Regions from separate parts of the Homo sapiens genome. Here all the other regions are linked to region 2. The links are contacts of gene promoters, found by promoter capture Hi-C in blood cells and fetal thymus (Javierre and others, 2016). All regions are on one chromosome and are shown on one strand. The core of a region is centred on a gene start or on the middle of the fragment in contact, and the rest is flanking DNA. Distances in the headings are between cores, read along the strand shown.

Evidence for each region. The method cuts DNA at HindIII sites, captures the fragments that hold promoters and counts their contacts. A CHiCAGO score of 5 or more calls a contact.
Region 1: a contact is called between a fragment that was not itself captured here and the fragment with the promoter of PMP2 in region 2, in 2 of 17 cell types (M0 macrophages and M1 macrophages). The highest score is 5.7, in M0 macrophages.
Region 3: a contact is called between a fragment that was not itself captured here and the fragment with the promoter of PMP2 in region 2, in 1 of 17 cell types (M2 macrophages). The highest score is 6.4, in M2 macrophages.

The regions. Positions count from the first base shown.
Region 1 is chr8:81,293,899-81,298,733 of GRCh38, reverse strand. No RefSeq gene overlaps it. Among named protein-coding and RNA genes, the nearest start is that of LNMICC, 15 kb to the right of the region's middle. The HindIII fragment of the contact is 9,479 bases long and covers 1-4,835 here.
Region 2 is chr8:81,445,773-81,450,877 of GRCh38, reverse strand. PMP2 (peripheral myelin protein 2) reads left to right here and starts at 3,439. Exons shown (of 4, transcript NM_002677.5): 1 at 3,439-3,564. The coding sequence starts at 3,492. The HindIII fragment of the contact is 2,109 bases long and covers 1,754-3,862 here.
Region 3 is chr8:81,272,770-81,277,430 of GRCh38, reverse strand. LNMICC (lncRNA associated with lymph node metastasis in cervical cancer) reads left to right here. Exons shown (of 2, transcript NR_186603.1): 2 at 1-2,032. Among named protein-coding and RNA genes, the nearest start is that of FABP5, 5.4 kb to the left of the region's middle. The HindIII fragment of the contact is 4,234 bases long and covers 548-4,661 here.

The sequences.
Region 1 (4,835 bases), core at 2,248-4,747, 150 kb after region 2:
TGAATAAAGATGGGAAAGGTGAAGAGATTTAGAACCAAAGATGAGTTTCACTGTTTTTACCATTCTTAAATTTACCTGGTGAGGATCATGAAGTATAGGGAGGCTAGGAAGAGAAAGAAACAAGAAACAGGAGTGTAAGCAAACTAGTATTACCAGGCACATGCAGGAAAAAAAAAATCAATGTTTTATTTTTTTGTTTGCTTTTAAAAGAAATGCTGGGTTTTGCATTCTAGCCCCTCATTCATTCAAGACTCCCTTATTTGGTATTCAAGTGCAATCTGCAAGTGGGTGGTGTGAGTTTGTATATTTGCAGAAGCACTTTTCGGGAAGTGCTAAAGTAAATCCTGTGGTTGAGAAGTTTGTTGTACAGTACTTAAGGAGCACAGATTGTTTTGGTTTCCGTGTTATTTATTTAACTTATAAATTAAACTGTGAGAGCATACATACCACGCACACAATTCAGAGAACAGACAATGTAAGAATGTAAAAAAAAAAAATAAAAAAAAATGCCCTGGGGCAGAATCTGATAGTGTTCTTTTCCCAATTAATACATCACCTATCAAACTACGTTGAAAATCCATATGCTTATCTAACGTTTCAAAGTGATTTCTTCCTTCAGTAATAAAAATGTTTTTAAAGAGAGTGAAAACATTAATTCTACATGGGGGAAACATAGGATATATAGCAATTAAATAACCATGATCTAAATTATTTACTACATTAGCCTGCCTTTGTTGAAACTTATTTCAGGGCCTAGTTTGATATACTTGACTAGCAGAAAATTACGGAGTTTTAAAAAATCTGAGGCCGGGTGCGGTGGCTCACACCTTAATCCCAGCACTTTGGGAGGCGGATTACAAGGTCAGGAGTTCAAGACCAGCCTGACCAACATGGTGAAACCCCGTCTCTACCAAAAATACAAAAATTAGCTGGGTGTGAAGGTGTGTGCTTGTAATCCCAGCTACTTGGGAGACTGAGGCAGGAGAATCACTTGAACCCGGGAGGCAGAGGTTGCAGTGAGCTGAGATCATGCCACTGCACTCCAGCCTGGGCAACAGAGTGAGACTCCATCTCAAAAAAAAAAACAAAAAAAAACTGAATTACATGCATCACATGTGTTCTATACTGTAATGTATAAATTCTGTTCAAAATCATTCTTGTGTTTGTTTAGATAACATCTGTTTCCATGTCAGTCTAATGCATTGTAAACTTACTGAGGGCAGGGAGCATGTCTAACCTAATGAGAGTTGCCTCAAATAAATATCAGTCCAGAACAATACTTTTATGCATACCAAACCCATCCCTGCATCTCCCCCACCATCTTCTCAGCCAGTAAGAAACTAAACTGCCTCTGCCTGACTCTGTGCTGGACTACTTGCTCTTGTCAACCTCCTATAACCACCAAACCAGTCATGCATCATGACCCTGAACAAACTGGGCCCTGTGTTGTCTCTGTAATGAATCTCCCCTTCTGGAGATATTATTAGCAAAACAATATTCCAGGAACTTGCCTTATATCGGTTCCACTTTCTCTGAGGCTGCTTTTCCAGCAAGAAGTATTACTGATGGATAGGCCCTTCTGCTTATCACAGAGCCAGCCCTTTTAAAACACATTCTTATCTTTGAGGATTTTGGCAGCAGGTACTCCACTGTTGAGCACTTACTTTTAGAAAATGCACTGACTCCCAGATGAAATTAGGTAGATGAATTCCCACCCCTATAGTGAGTGACATATTTTTTTTTACTTCTTTCTTTTTTTTTTTTTTTTGAGATGAAGCCTCGCTCTGCAGCCCAGGCTGGAGTGCAGTGGTGTGATCTCGGCTCACCGCAACCTCTACCTCCTGGGTTCAAGAGATTCTCCTTCCTCAGCCTCCAGAGTAGCTGGGATTACAGGCATGCACCACAGCACCTGGCTAATTTTTTGTATTTTTAGTAGAGGTGGAGTTTCACCATGTTGGCCAACCTGGTCTTGAACTCTGACCTCAGGTAATCTGCCCACCTCAGCCTCCCACAGTGCTAGGATTACAGGCGTAAGTCACCGCGCCTGGCTGTGAGTGATATTTTTATCAGTAAATGGTTATTAGTTTCCTACAGGAAGAGACTAAAGGATTAGGTATAAACATGTATTCATATCTACTCAAATAATTCCTGTATAAGTACTCATGAGGGGCAGAATAATTTCAGACATCAGATAGCATCCATTGAACTCTTGCGGCTGCCTTATCATCAAGTAACCTACATCTCTCCTCAATGCTGTTAGCAGCACTTAGCAGCTCAATTCTTGATCTCCATTTGTACTTAGACTTTAGAGTCTCTTTAAATTGAATAAAACAACATAGCCTGAACTTTGGTTATCTATAAGAGCAAAAGACTGAAAACAATCCACAAGACTATTAATTAAGCCTTTCCCAAGTATATTTGCAATTTTCTAAAACAAAACAGCACCATATGTCTGATAAGGACCTACCTTAGAGGAGTTGTTAAATTAATAAAGCAAGGTACAGAGATGCATATATAATTATGCCTGGATTTACAGAGAATATTGCTAGAAAGATAAATAAGAAAAAGGTTACCATGATTGCCTCTAAAAAGGAGACGAGTGGCTGGGGACAGGGGTAGTAGGAAGGCTGACAATTTTACTACTGTATTTTTGTATTTTGTAATGTGACACTGAAGTTATTTACAGACTCAAAATGATTTATTAATTTTTTTTAAAAACCAGCATGGGTATTGGAATTAGACAGACTTGGATTAGTATCCTGACTAAGGTTGCCAGACATAAGATGCAGGACATCCTGTATTTTTTATTTTATTTTTATTGCTAGATAAAATGCAAGAGTCCTGTATTTTTATTTGCTCAATACAGCAATCCTAGGTCCTGACCTCACCATTTATTTTGTTTGTAACTCTAAACAAGTGAGTTAGGTCAGATTCCTCTGAAACAGAAGGAAGGAGAGGAAGCCATGAAGGATGAGATCTCAGGCTCAGCCCCATCCTGTGGGTGAATTCAAGTGTGAGTTCAGCCTTGGTGTTGTCCCATCTTCAGCAAGGGAGCTGGGTTTCATATTCCCACACTGCACCAGGCAGCCCTGGCAGAGAAAGAAGAACACAAACTCTCAGTCACTTTCAGCCTTCTGCATGTGTGGGAAAAAGGGCTCTAGTAGTCCAAGGACAGATTTCCCACAAAGAGCCTTAGCTGCTGGCTGCTGAAAGTACACCAAAGCCAGGGGGATAAACCATAAAAACGTATTCAAAGGGACAAGCAGGTCACTGGGAGTCATGGTGAGCAAGGTCACTCCTATTCCTGCCTCTGGTTCCTGAGCCTGTAGATCGCTCCCATTGGATTCCCATTTGTACTTAGACTCTAGAGTCTCTATAAATTGAATGAAAAGTAGCCTGAACTTTGGTTATCTATAAGAGCAAAAGACTGAAAACAATCCACACAAATTTTATTTTTATTTATTTATTTATTTATTTATTTTGAGACGGAGTCTCACTCTATTGCCCAGGCTAGCATGCAGTGGCATGATCTCCGCTCACTGCAACCTCCGCCTCCCAGGTTCAAGCAATTCTCCTGCCTCAGCCTCCCAAGTAGCTGGAACTACAGGCGTCCGCCACCATGCCTGGATAAGTTTTTGTTTTTTGTTGTTGTTTTTTTTTTAGTAAAGTTGGGGTTTCACCATGTTGGCCAGGCTGGTCTTGAGCTCCTGACCTCAAGTGATCCACCCACCTTGGCTTTCTCCCCAAGTGCTGGGATTACAGGTGTGAGCCACCGCTCCCAGCCACCATGACTATTAATTAAGCCTTTCACAAGCAAATCTGCAATTTTTAAAAACAAAGCAGCACCATATGTAATAGCTGCTGCTTCATGCTGCTTACCACATCCTGAAGGACAGTACCCCAGTCTTGGGTTTGCCTTCAACAGACCGTTCCATGCTCCATCAGGCTAGAATCGTCTGAAAGTGGTGGTTTGTGGTAGGAACAGCAACTTTCCTCATCATGGACTCTTTGCCACACTTCATTCACCATAGAATGGGTCTCAAGGTGATGTTATATCAACAGATGAAACACTCTGTGGGCCCCCAGACAGCAGTGTTGGCTGGGGACCTGCAGAAGAAGGGAAAGCTCCTTTGTGGAATATGTCAATCTGGTCAGGATGAATTGAGCCCTGGAGTCCTTTGAGTAAGGACTGGAGGGATCCCTGCTGCATACACTTATGGTGGTGTTGCAGGGAGTTCTGTCTACCTATTGCTACAGAACAAATCACCCCAAAACGAGGCTTAAACAACAATCATTTTATTATGTCCCAAGGTTTTGGAGGGTCAGGAATTTCCAGGGCTCAGCAGGGCTGTTCTGAGTGAGTTCCCCAGAAGCAAAGCCAGAGCAAGAATTTGCATGCAAGTGATTTGTTAAGGGAAGTGTTAGGGAAAGATCTGTAAAGGCGTGAGAGAGGGGAAGTAGGAGTGGGAAGAGGAGGAAACTGAGGCAGGATATGATCTCAGACCATGTTCTACAGAGGGCGGGCTTTAGCCTGATCCAGGGAGCAACTCTGGAGGGTCAGTTATATCTCAGTTATATATCAGATGTCCTCATCTGATGCAAGGGACCTGAGCTTTCACACTCCTACACTTGACAGTCACTGGTTGTTTGCCACCCTGGGCATCAGGTTGGAATTGGAGGGTAACTCCCAAGCATGCCTGACTCCCTCCATGTGAAGCTCCAGAGGCCTCTTCAAATTGCTGTTCAGCTTCTGTTTTTTGATTTGTAAAATGGAAATAATATTTGTATCTGCCTCATATTTTGGCTTTTACTATTATTTTTAATTGACACTTAAT
Region 2 (5,105 bases), core at 2,190-4,689:
CTATCATGGCTAGAAGTGAAAGTTCTAAGTTCTATTTTTATTTTCTTCCCAACTATTTATTTAAAAATGACACTTTTTAGAATGAGATTCAGTCATCTGCAACAACATGGATGGAACTGGAGCACATGTTAAGTGAAATAAGCCAGACATAGAGAGAGAAATATCACATGTTCTCACTTATTTACAAGATCTAAAAATCAAAACATTTGAGAACCCATGGAGACAGAGAGTAGAAGGATGATTATCAGAGGCTGGGAAGGGTAGTGCAGGAATTGTGGGGGAGTAGGAGGGAGGTGGGGATGGTTAATGGTTACAAAAAAAATAGAATAAATAAGACCTAGTATTTGATAGCAGAACAGGGTGACTATAGTCGATAATAATTAAATAGTACATTTAGAAATAAGCAAGAGTAAAACTGGATTGTTTGTAACACAAAGGATAAATGTGTGAGGGGGTGGATACACCATCTTCCATGATGTGGTTATTATGCTTTGCATGCCTGTACCAAAACATCTCATGTACCCCATAAATACATACACCTACTATGAACCCACAATTTTTTAAGTGACCCTTTTAAGTTGATTATTTATCTTGGTATTCTATGGTATGCTTCTCTTGTCATCAATTATTATCACAATATCAATTATTATTACAAATAATTTCAAATTCATTACAATTAATACTTCTTGCTTCAAGCCTTTATCAAATCATGAGTAGAATGTAAGTTCCATGAGGGCAAGGAATTTGATTCAATAATGTTTAACCAGCACTTTCAACAGTGCTTGGCACTTAATAAGCTCTCAACAAATATTTTTGCAATTGAATAAACAGCAAAAGTTGAGTTGGATCTTTGGCATCCAAGTGGAGGGTCAGGAATTCTTTGTTCATTTGCTATGTAATGATTGATTATCTTATTTCTTTTTCAAATATATAATTGGATTTAGCTTGAAGACAATCTATAAGGAACACTTACATGGTTTGTTATATAGAGTAAGCTTTCCTTATTTATTTTGTTTGGACCTTTGGATCTTCCTTTCAGTGTATGAGTCAAATAACTTGCTGTATCTTGAGAATTTACATGGACAATAAATTGGTGAAGAGAGAAGAACTGAATACACATCATAGAGAGACTATATGTATTTTACAAACATGTAGTTCAGTCTAAATATATACATCTAGTTATAATGTGGTTCTATGCATTCTTTCTTGTTAGGACATTGATGACTTTCTTAGCTAGGAGTGATGTAATGTTTCAGGCCTAGTTCAGTCCGGGTCTTCCCTCATTGCTTTGATCTGTGCCTTTGGCCCATATATTGGCCTCAGAATCCCATCACGGTCCAAACTTGTCTGGTCAGTTCTATTAATAGCAGTCAGGTACAATTGCTGATAAGCCTTAAGTAGAAAATTTTTCTCTTGGTCTAATATTGCTTCAAAGTTATAAGTTTTCTCTCTTGGAAATATATGGCTCAATGTTTATGTTTTAAACTCCACTGCTGTTCCTATGTGCAACACAGAGTCAGCTTAAAATTCACACAGCTTTCTTGTAGCAGTCCCACTGAATACAAGGTCTCAGCTCTAGTGTGAGGGTTTGGGAGTCCTTCATTTATTTAGGCAGAAAACCTAAATGTTGAATGCTGTACTCCTTAATAGTGTACAGCTAACAAAAAAAAAAAAGTTTTGAAGGTACAAGTGATATCATCATTTCTGTAAAGTGTTTTGGAAAATAAAATAACATATCCACTAATCAAAAGCTTTTTCTTTCACAGTTGTTTTTTCTATCCCAGTACAATGTACTCCCTCCAGTTACATTCTCTTGGGTTTAGGATTGGGTTAGTTGGTTAGCTGAGGAATTTTCCTATTCACCATTTCTTTCCCACCTTGAGCTATTCAGGCACTGGGATTGTAAATGAAACTTCAGCCCACTGTATATGATTTCACGTGTTTTACTCAGCTTGAACTCTAACTATGTAACTGCAATAGTTATGTCACAGCTATGCGACTGGGTTTCTTGAGCCCTTCTTGCTAGTAATTCTACCTGTTATGAGCAAATTCATCATATTTTTGTTGTTGTAAACAGTGCCAACCTGTTTACTAAATGTATAAAACTTGGTAATATCAGTTGTCTCCAGCCAGAATTAATGCTAAGGTAAAAACAAACAACAAACAAACAACAACAAAAACAAACAAACAAAAAACCTGCTAGGAAAGATATAGCAGTAATCAGAGATTCTCAAGAGCAACACTTATGTTCTAAGTGGATTTACGTTTGTTCCCCTTGGCCAAAGACTGGGGCTTTGATGTAATATAGTAGGCTGGATCTTTTGATTTTTTACCTCTCTTGATTTTTGAGAAGAGAGAGAGTGTTTCTAGCTAATCGTGGTGCTATCAGCATCAGGTGATCTCTGGCCAGGGCCTCCGTGCACGTAGCATGTATGGTATAGTATAATAGAAGCAGGGTAAGATCATGGTTCAGAACCCGGGCACTGGCAGCAATGCTGGGTTCAAACCTGTCCTCTCCTTATTCAACTTTTGGGAGCAATTTACCTAATGTCCCCAAGCTCATTTTTATCATTGGTAAAATGGATATAATAATAGTTCCTAACTCTTGGAATTAGTGATATAATTAAATGAGATCACCCGTATTAAGCACTTAGCACAGTGTCTGGCCCATAGTGAGTTGTCAATATAAATTAGTACTCTTTCTATAGAAAATCCTCTTTATAAAATTGTAGATTCATTTTAAATGACTTAAACACAAATAGTTATAGTATCCAGGAACCTGCTTAGTTCAGACTTTAAGTATTTCTAGCTGAAAATCTTTGTTGTGCTCAAAGAACATGTTATAGTGCTACTTCTTGTTTCATCACATGAATACAATTTCTGTGCTCTGCTGCAATAGACTGACTTCTTTGTCTGCCTACTCTGCCTGCCTGGGATATGTGAACTATGCCAAGCCTTCTTACCTATGAATACTTCCTCACACTGCTCCCCTACGTTTCTCTCCCACAACATATTTGAGACTGTTATCATAATACTTACAGACATTTTCCTCTTTTTCTTCCCTTTCAATAAGAATTCTTAATTGTGCAGACTCAGGATTGAGAGTGACCGACATGCCTAAACACACACACATTCATTCATGATCACAGAATTCATGCAGTCTTTTCCAAAGCATGAAGGGCCTAAGCCTTCTTATAAATGTAAGATTGATCAAAAAATTTTTGAAGATTCAAATAGTAATCTCATTCATTTTATAAATTTTTTTGGAGACAAAGGGAAGTATTATGTGGGGTTTTCTTTTATCCTATTGGGCGGGCAGCTGGCCATTGAAGAGCCATTCATTGCTTAGTCCCGACACTGCCTTTCCCCATTGGGTCTCTGTAAGAGTCACACGCTTTGGGCATCCTTGAAAAGAATCTTCTGAGGCCTCAGCATTTTATCTGAGTCTTCTGAATCCCACTTAGAACTGTGTTGAGCTCTCACCCATCACGATGAGCAACAAATTCCTGGGCACCTGGAAACTTGTCTCTAGTGAGAACTTTGACGATTACATGAAAGCTCTGGGTAAGAAATGCTTTTTGTTGTTCTGCTGAAAAGCTCCTTTTTAAGAAAGCTACATGACATTTTCATCTACTACTTTTAACAGGATACTGGGGAGTTTTGCAAGGCTGCAGTACAATCCTCTTTTAGGATTAATCTTTTGTTGTGTCATTCAGATAATTTATTTGAATTTTATTTGTGGTAATTTTTAATAGAATTAACTTAAATGAGAGAGCTGCTTAAATGCATGGAATGCCCACTGATTTCAAGGGCAATTTCATACCAAGAGAATTTTGGTTGCAGGTCCAGAGGAGAGAAAGCTTAAAAGCATGGTCAACCCATTTTCTGGCTTTTCTGAGAGCTACGTTCATAGCAACTGAAGTGTTCATAAAATAAGGAATTGAATATATTGCAAATCCTAGAAAATCTCAATTTAAAAATTTAAGTTTTAGCTAAACTAACAGTTTTTTCTCTCTACCTCTAGGTTGTCCTTTATTACACAATCATGTAGATACAGAGAGTTTGAAAAACAAAAATACTTCCTAAAATACTGTGTTCATAGTCTAGGGAAGTTACTGAGAGAAAAAGAACTGGAGTTATGGCAGTGAATTCAAACTCAATTTCGCTAACATCAGACGTTTCTGGAGTTGGAGCAGTGAGTGAAGATGGAAAACCGAGTCATTAGTTACAACAACTTTATTTTATACTATTTCTAGAGTATGTCCCATCGATATAAACACAATAGATATGAAGAGTCTTTGGGAATTTTCAGAACTATATAAATACAATAAAGAGTGATGCCAGTGACCCGAGTTTGCTGTGCTTGTCAAAGTGCCTACAGCTTTACTTAACTGTTCAGAAAGCCTGTATAAAATGTTCTATTTTAGATAAAATGAGCAAAGTCATGTCATTGTTGCCTGGAACAGTAAGAGAACTTATGGGGATCAATTCATACTGTGAGATCGGTTAGATTTAAAGACTTCACTTTACAGCTGAGGAAGAAGCCAAATAAAAGAAAGTCTCAGTGAAGGATTTTCTAATTCCACTGTTTTCCAGTTTAGCATGCAAAATAACACCTTGGGATTTGGTAAATATAAATTCTCAGGCTCTGACCCAGAGATTATGATTTAACTTGAGAAACATTGTCCTAAACTGTATAAAATAACAAAAGATTAATCAGAATTTGAAGAAAGAATATAGTTTATAGTTTATTGGCTGTAACTCTTAACTTCTTATTCAGTATGTAAAAGTTTGAGATCTTTTTAACTGGAAAAAGTTATTCAACCATTGAGACTTCCTGGAAAATTAGTTTTTCTTTCATATATTTTTTATTTTACATTTTCCCTTTTCCATATATTTTATAGTCTTGGTAATAATGGTAATAAACTTAAGAGTCTAATTTTGTTTCATTTTTGAAATGTAGAAGAGTTTTTTAAAAAATATTTTATTTCTCTATGATCATTTATAATAGTATAGATCTCAAAGTTAGATGGATAGTTTTTTTCCTACCAGCTAGATATAGAAGCCACAAAATTTCAGAAGTGAAATTCTATCAAAAATATGAG
Region 3 (4,661 bases), core at 1,415-3,914, 170 kb after region 2:
CCAGCTTCTAGCCACATCTTCCCTAAGAAAATTTCACCTGGAATCAGTTCCAAAAGAAAATCTTAAGAGATAGAGTATGGATCTGCATGTTGTCAGCTACCTAAAGCAGCAAAAATTCCTAGATGAGAATAAAATCAGGGAACCTTGCAGTTTAAGGCACACCTTAAATATTAAATTTTTAATCCTTCAATGCATCCAGCCAAAACAAGAAATTGCAAATAGCTACCATCCATCAATGCAAGGTTTTTTTGGTTTGTTTTTCATAATAAGATTGGTTTTAATTAAAGCACTTATAAAGATGGAGTTATATTTTGAACTTTGTCCTTTTACTTAAAGCAGTTAGAGTCTTACACATCATAACTGCCACGGCTAACCATTAAAATTTTCCAGCTCCTTAAATGATCCATCATAAACTTGTGCTTGCTGAGTTAACTGGACTAGAGGATAGCTGGAGGGAAAATGAGGCATTGCAAAAGTTACAGTAATAAAAAGTGAATGGCTTCAAAATAAGGCAGAGGACATAATGGCTCATTTTATAATAAAAGCTTTCAGTATAAAATTCATACATTTCCCTTACTTATATAGATCTTCCTACTTTCCAGACATGTGTATTATTGTATATTACATTTGTCAATAGCTCATGGCAACAGATACACATAGTTTGGGATAACCCTTTTATACCTCATATGAGCAGTGTTCAAAGGTTTAAAAGCACAACTCCAAAGGGCACAGCTTGAAATGGAGCGGGAGGATGCTAGCAAAGCCACCCCAATAAACACAAAATCTTAGTAAAAGCACTATGTTTACCAGGCAATGCAACTTCAAAACAAATTCCTTAGCAACCCCAACCTCTTCAAGCCCGCTTCTAATCACATTATTACTCCTAAGCCTCCTTATATACAAAATCTTAGGCTGGCCAAGCCCAAACACACAGACACATTAATAATGAGCATCTCTGTCCTTAAAAAATTTCAAACATAAAAAACCTCCAAATGATATGTTCCCACTGGAAGAGGCCAAATTCTTTTCTTGTAGATTACCCTTTTCTATTTTTCATTCCTACCTCCCATGCAGTATTCCTAGATTCTCACACCATTTGATCATTTCTCTATTTTGATATTTATCTATAAGAATTAATGATTTTTTTCAAGTCAAATCTACAAAACCGTGGATTTGCTTGCCTCTAAGCTATTTATCTCAGTGAGTCAGGCCCACTGCTTCCATTTTTCTGGATTAGCTTTGAAGAAGAATCATCAGCACTTAATAACCTACCTAAATCCGACTGAAGATGCTTTCTTGATCCTATCTCTGGTCCTCCTACTTTGGCAGTGGGAAGAGCTACCCTATAACTCCTCAGAGTCATGCACAGAGCTGTAAAACCAGCATGCAGCTGATTTTGTGCACTTCTCTGAAGGACCCAAGCAGCAGGATGGGTACCTTTTGTTCACCCACCCATAGACACCACAGGACACTTTTTGTTCACCTGCTCACTTCTGCATTGACCAAACTTAAAGATACAGATTCAACAGTATGTAGGGGAAGTTTCCAGTAAAGTATATTCTGTTTTCTACATTGGTTAAATATTGTAATTTCATGCGGGAACTGGGAGGCTAAGTAGTTGTTACCATTAAGAAGAGCAACTGTGATCTTACTTCCAGCCTATTTTGGAAGGTGGGATAAAAAATATTTGTGCCACAAATCTCAAATCTTGTCTCCTATCTTACAACCTTGAAATACATAGTTAATTCTGCAGGGTCTCAGACATCCTACTGAGTTGCCAAATATTGAACACCAAGCTGGGCTTGTCAACACTCAGGGCTACAAAGAGGAGATCTCAAAACTACCATGGCCTCAGGATTCTGAATGTGGGTCTGAAATCCCTACTTCTTACTTTGGATTAAAAGCTCACCTGAGCTACACACATCTGTTGTCCTAGAATGGATATTTTTATTTAGATATCAACCAATTCAACTTCACTCCTTTATTGAGTCAGTCAAGAAATCAATAAAATTGACTTCAAAAATTGAAATCACTTCTTAATTCTCCTCTGGTTTTCTTCCTACCCTGCCCTTTCTTCTTCACACTCAATATAGTTTTACCCATCTGAATGAGGAATAAGTCTGACTTGTCTTTGAAACATTTGCTTTATTTCATAACTGCCACACGCTGGGCCTAAAGTGTATGTACCTGGATCTGAAGACAACAAAATACCTAGAGGATCTGCTCTGTGGGTGGGACACGGCAGCTAGAGCTGTGGAGGTCAGGCTTGAATTCCAGGGGATGGTACTGTCATGATTCTGATGGGTTCTTCTGATCTGGATTTGGATCCTGGCAAGAGAATGGTAGACAGAGTTTAGCCATCAGGAAGAAGGAACAAGACCTAAGCTGATGGTCAAATCCTAAAATAACACAAAAATAATCATGTGCCCTGCATCCTTACCTCCTTCTCCCTGCCCAGCACATCAGATAGCATTAATTCTAGTTTCACCATCAGAGCAGAGATGGAGCTCCTAATGGCCTTTCTGCCCTGGTAGGTTATCTGAACACACGATTTTTTTCAGAGTGCAAGATAGGATGACCATATCCTGGTTTGACTGGGGCAAGTCAGAGCTATGCTTGTTGTCCTGGTATGATTTTGAGCAATGCCCTCCTTCCTTCCAACTATTTCAAATAGGATGAAGAGTTGTTATATTTAATTCTCACCTATCAGGTAGCTCCAAAGTCTAAATTTCAAGGAAGGCATTAACATGGTACTACAGCATCATCTATTGTAAGACCTGAAGGTGCCTTGCAGGAGGGAAAAAATGTGGTAGCGCCATGTTCAGTATTACCCTACTCAGGTATCATACAAATATGTCATGCAGGGACAGCTTTGCTTGCTCACAAAAGAATGGCCAGCAGAGATGTCCATACCAGACACATTCCTTTGTCTCAAATCACCCCATATTTTTAGAACACCTAGTAATTATGTGGATAGAATCTAGTTCTTATCTTCAAGAAGTCTGGTATCTAAGTCTATACAAGCTAAAAACTACATCCATTGTGGGTTTTTTAAATTTCACAAACATTTATTAAAAATTGATTCTGTTTTAGTTCATCACATATTGAAAATTTTAAAAAATTGAAGGTCTTTGAAATATCAGGTAAACAGAAGCCCTCAGGTTCCCCATAATTCATTATGCCTTTTTTCTTAAGAAACCACATTATTTTATTTAAGAAATAAATGAAAGGTTTTTAGATCATCACTGGTTAATTTAAAGTCTACATTTGTTGTTTTCCATTTACACAATCATGTTTTTATTTTATTCTTTTAATTTTTTTATTGACAAATAATAATTGTATATATTTATGGGGTAAAATGTGATGTTATGATGTAGGTATAAAAATAAAATACTTAGGAGTAAATTTAACCAAGGAGATAAAAAATCTATATGCTGAAAACTGTAAAACATTGATAAAAGAAATTTAAAATGGCACAAATAAATGGAAAGATATCCTGTATTCTTGCACTGGAGGAACTAATATTGTGAAAATGTCCATACCACCCAAAGTGATCTGTAGATTCAATGCAATTCCTACCAAAATTCCAAGGTCATTCTTCACAGAAATGGAGAAAACAATTCTAAAATTCATATAGAACCACAAAGGACCCCAATTAGCCAAGAAAAACAAATAGCAAAGGCTGGAGGCATCACACTACCTGATTTCAAAAATGTACTACAAAGCTATAGTAATTGAAAAAGCATGGTGCTGGCACAAAAAGAAACGCATCAACCAATGGGATAGAATAGCCCAGGGAAAACCACATCTGCAGTCAACTTAATTTTTTTTTTTTTTTTTTTACAAAGGTGCCAAGAACACACAATGAGGAAAGAACAGTCTCTTTAATAAATGGTATTGAGAAAACTGGAGATCAACATGTAGAAGAATGAAATTAGGCCCTTATCTCTTACCATATACAAAAATCATCTAAAAATGGATTAAATACTTAAATGTAAAACATGAAACTACTAGGAGAAAACATAAAACTACTAGGAGAAAACATAGAGGGAAAACTCCATGGCATTGGTCAAGGCCATTGTTTTATCTTTATAATATTAAGCGAGTCTTTAACAGAAACCAGGTGAGTGTACCAAATAAATATATCTTGTTTAAAATTAATGTGCCAAATGTCAAAAAGTTAACTGAGGTAAACTTTGCTCAGCTAGAAAGATCTTGTCTGAGAAATACTGGGTTAGAAATCATGAAGCAACTCATGTCACTACTCAGCTCTGCCTGTGCTTTAGAGTTAGTTCATCGCTATAAACCGGGTAGTAAACGGACACCAGGCTATGCCTGAGGTGGTGATGCATACTGAGATATACAACTTGCATAATAAAAATTTCCAGAATACAAGTCAAAACTGGAATTGTCACCACCCGGCTAGTTCAGTAAGGGTCAGAAAATCCTGCTGAGTTCCTTTTCTGAGAATTGAGAGAAGAGTCTCAGAAGCAAAGCTGAATGATTTCTTGCCACACATACTCTGATGCCCTTGTCTTTCAGTAGAAACTGTACGTGGTTCCTGGGGAGAAGACTATGGTTCTATATGACAAGTTTTATTTGTTGCATGTTGTAAAATATTATCACTTCTGCAGCTATGTTATCAGGACATCATATAAGTG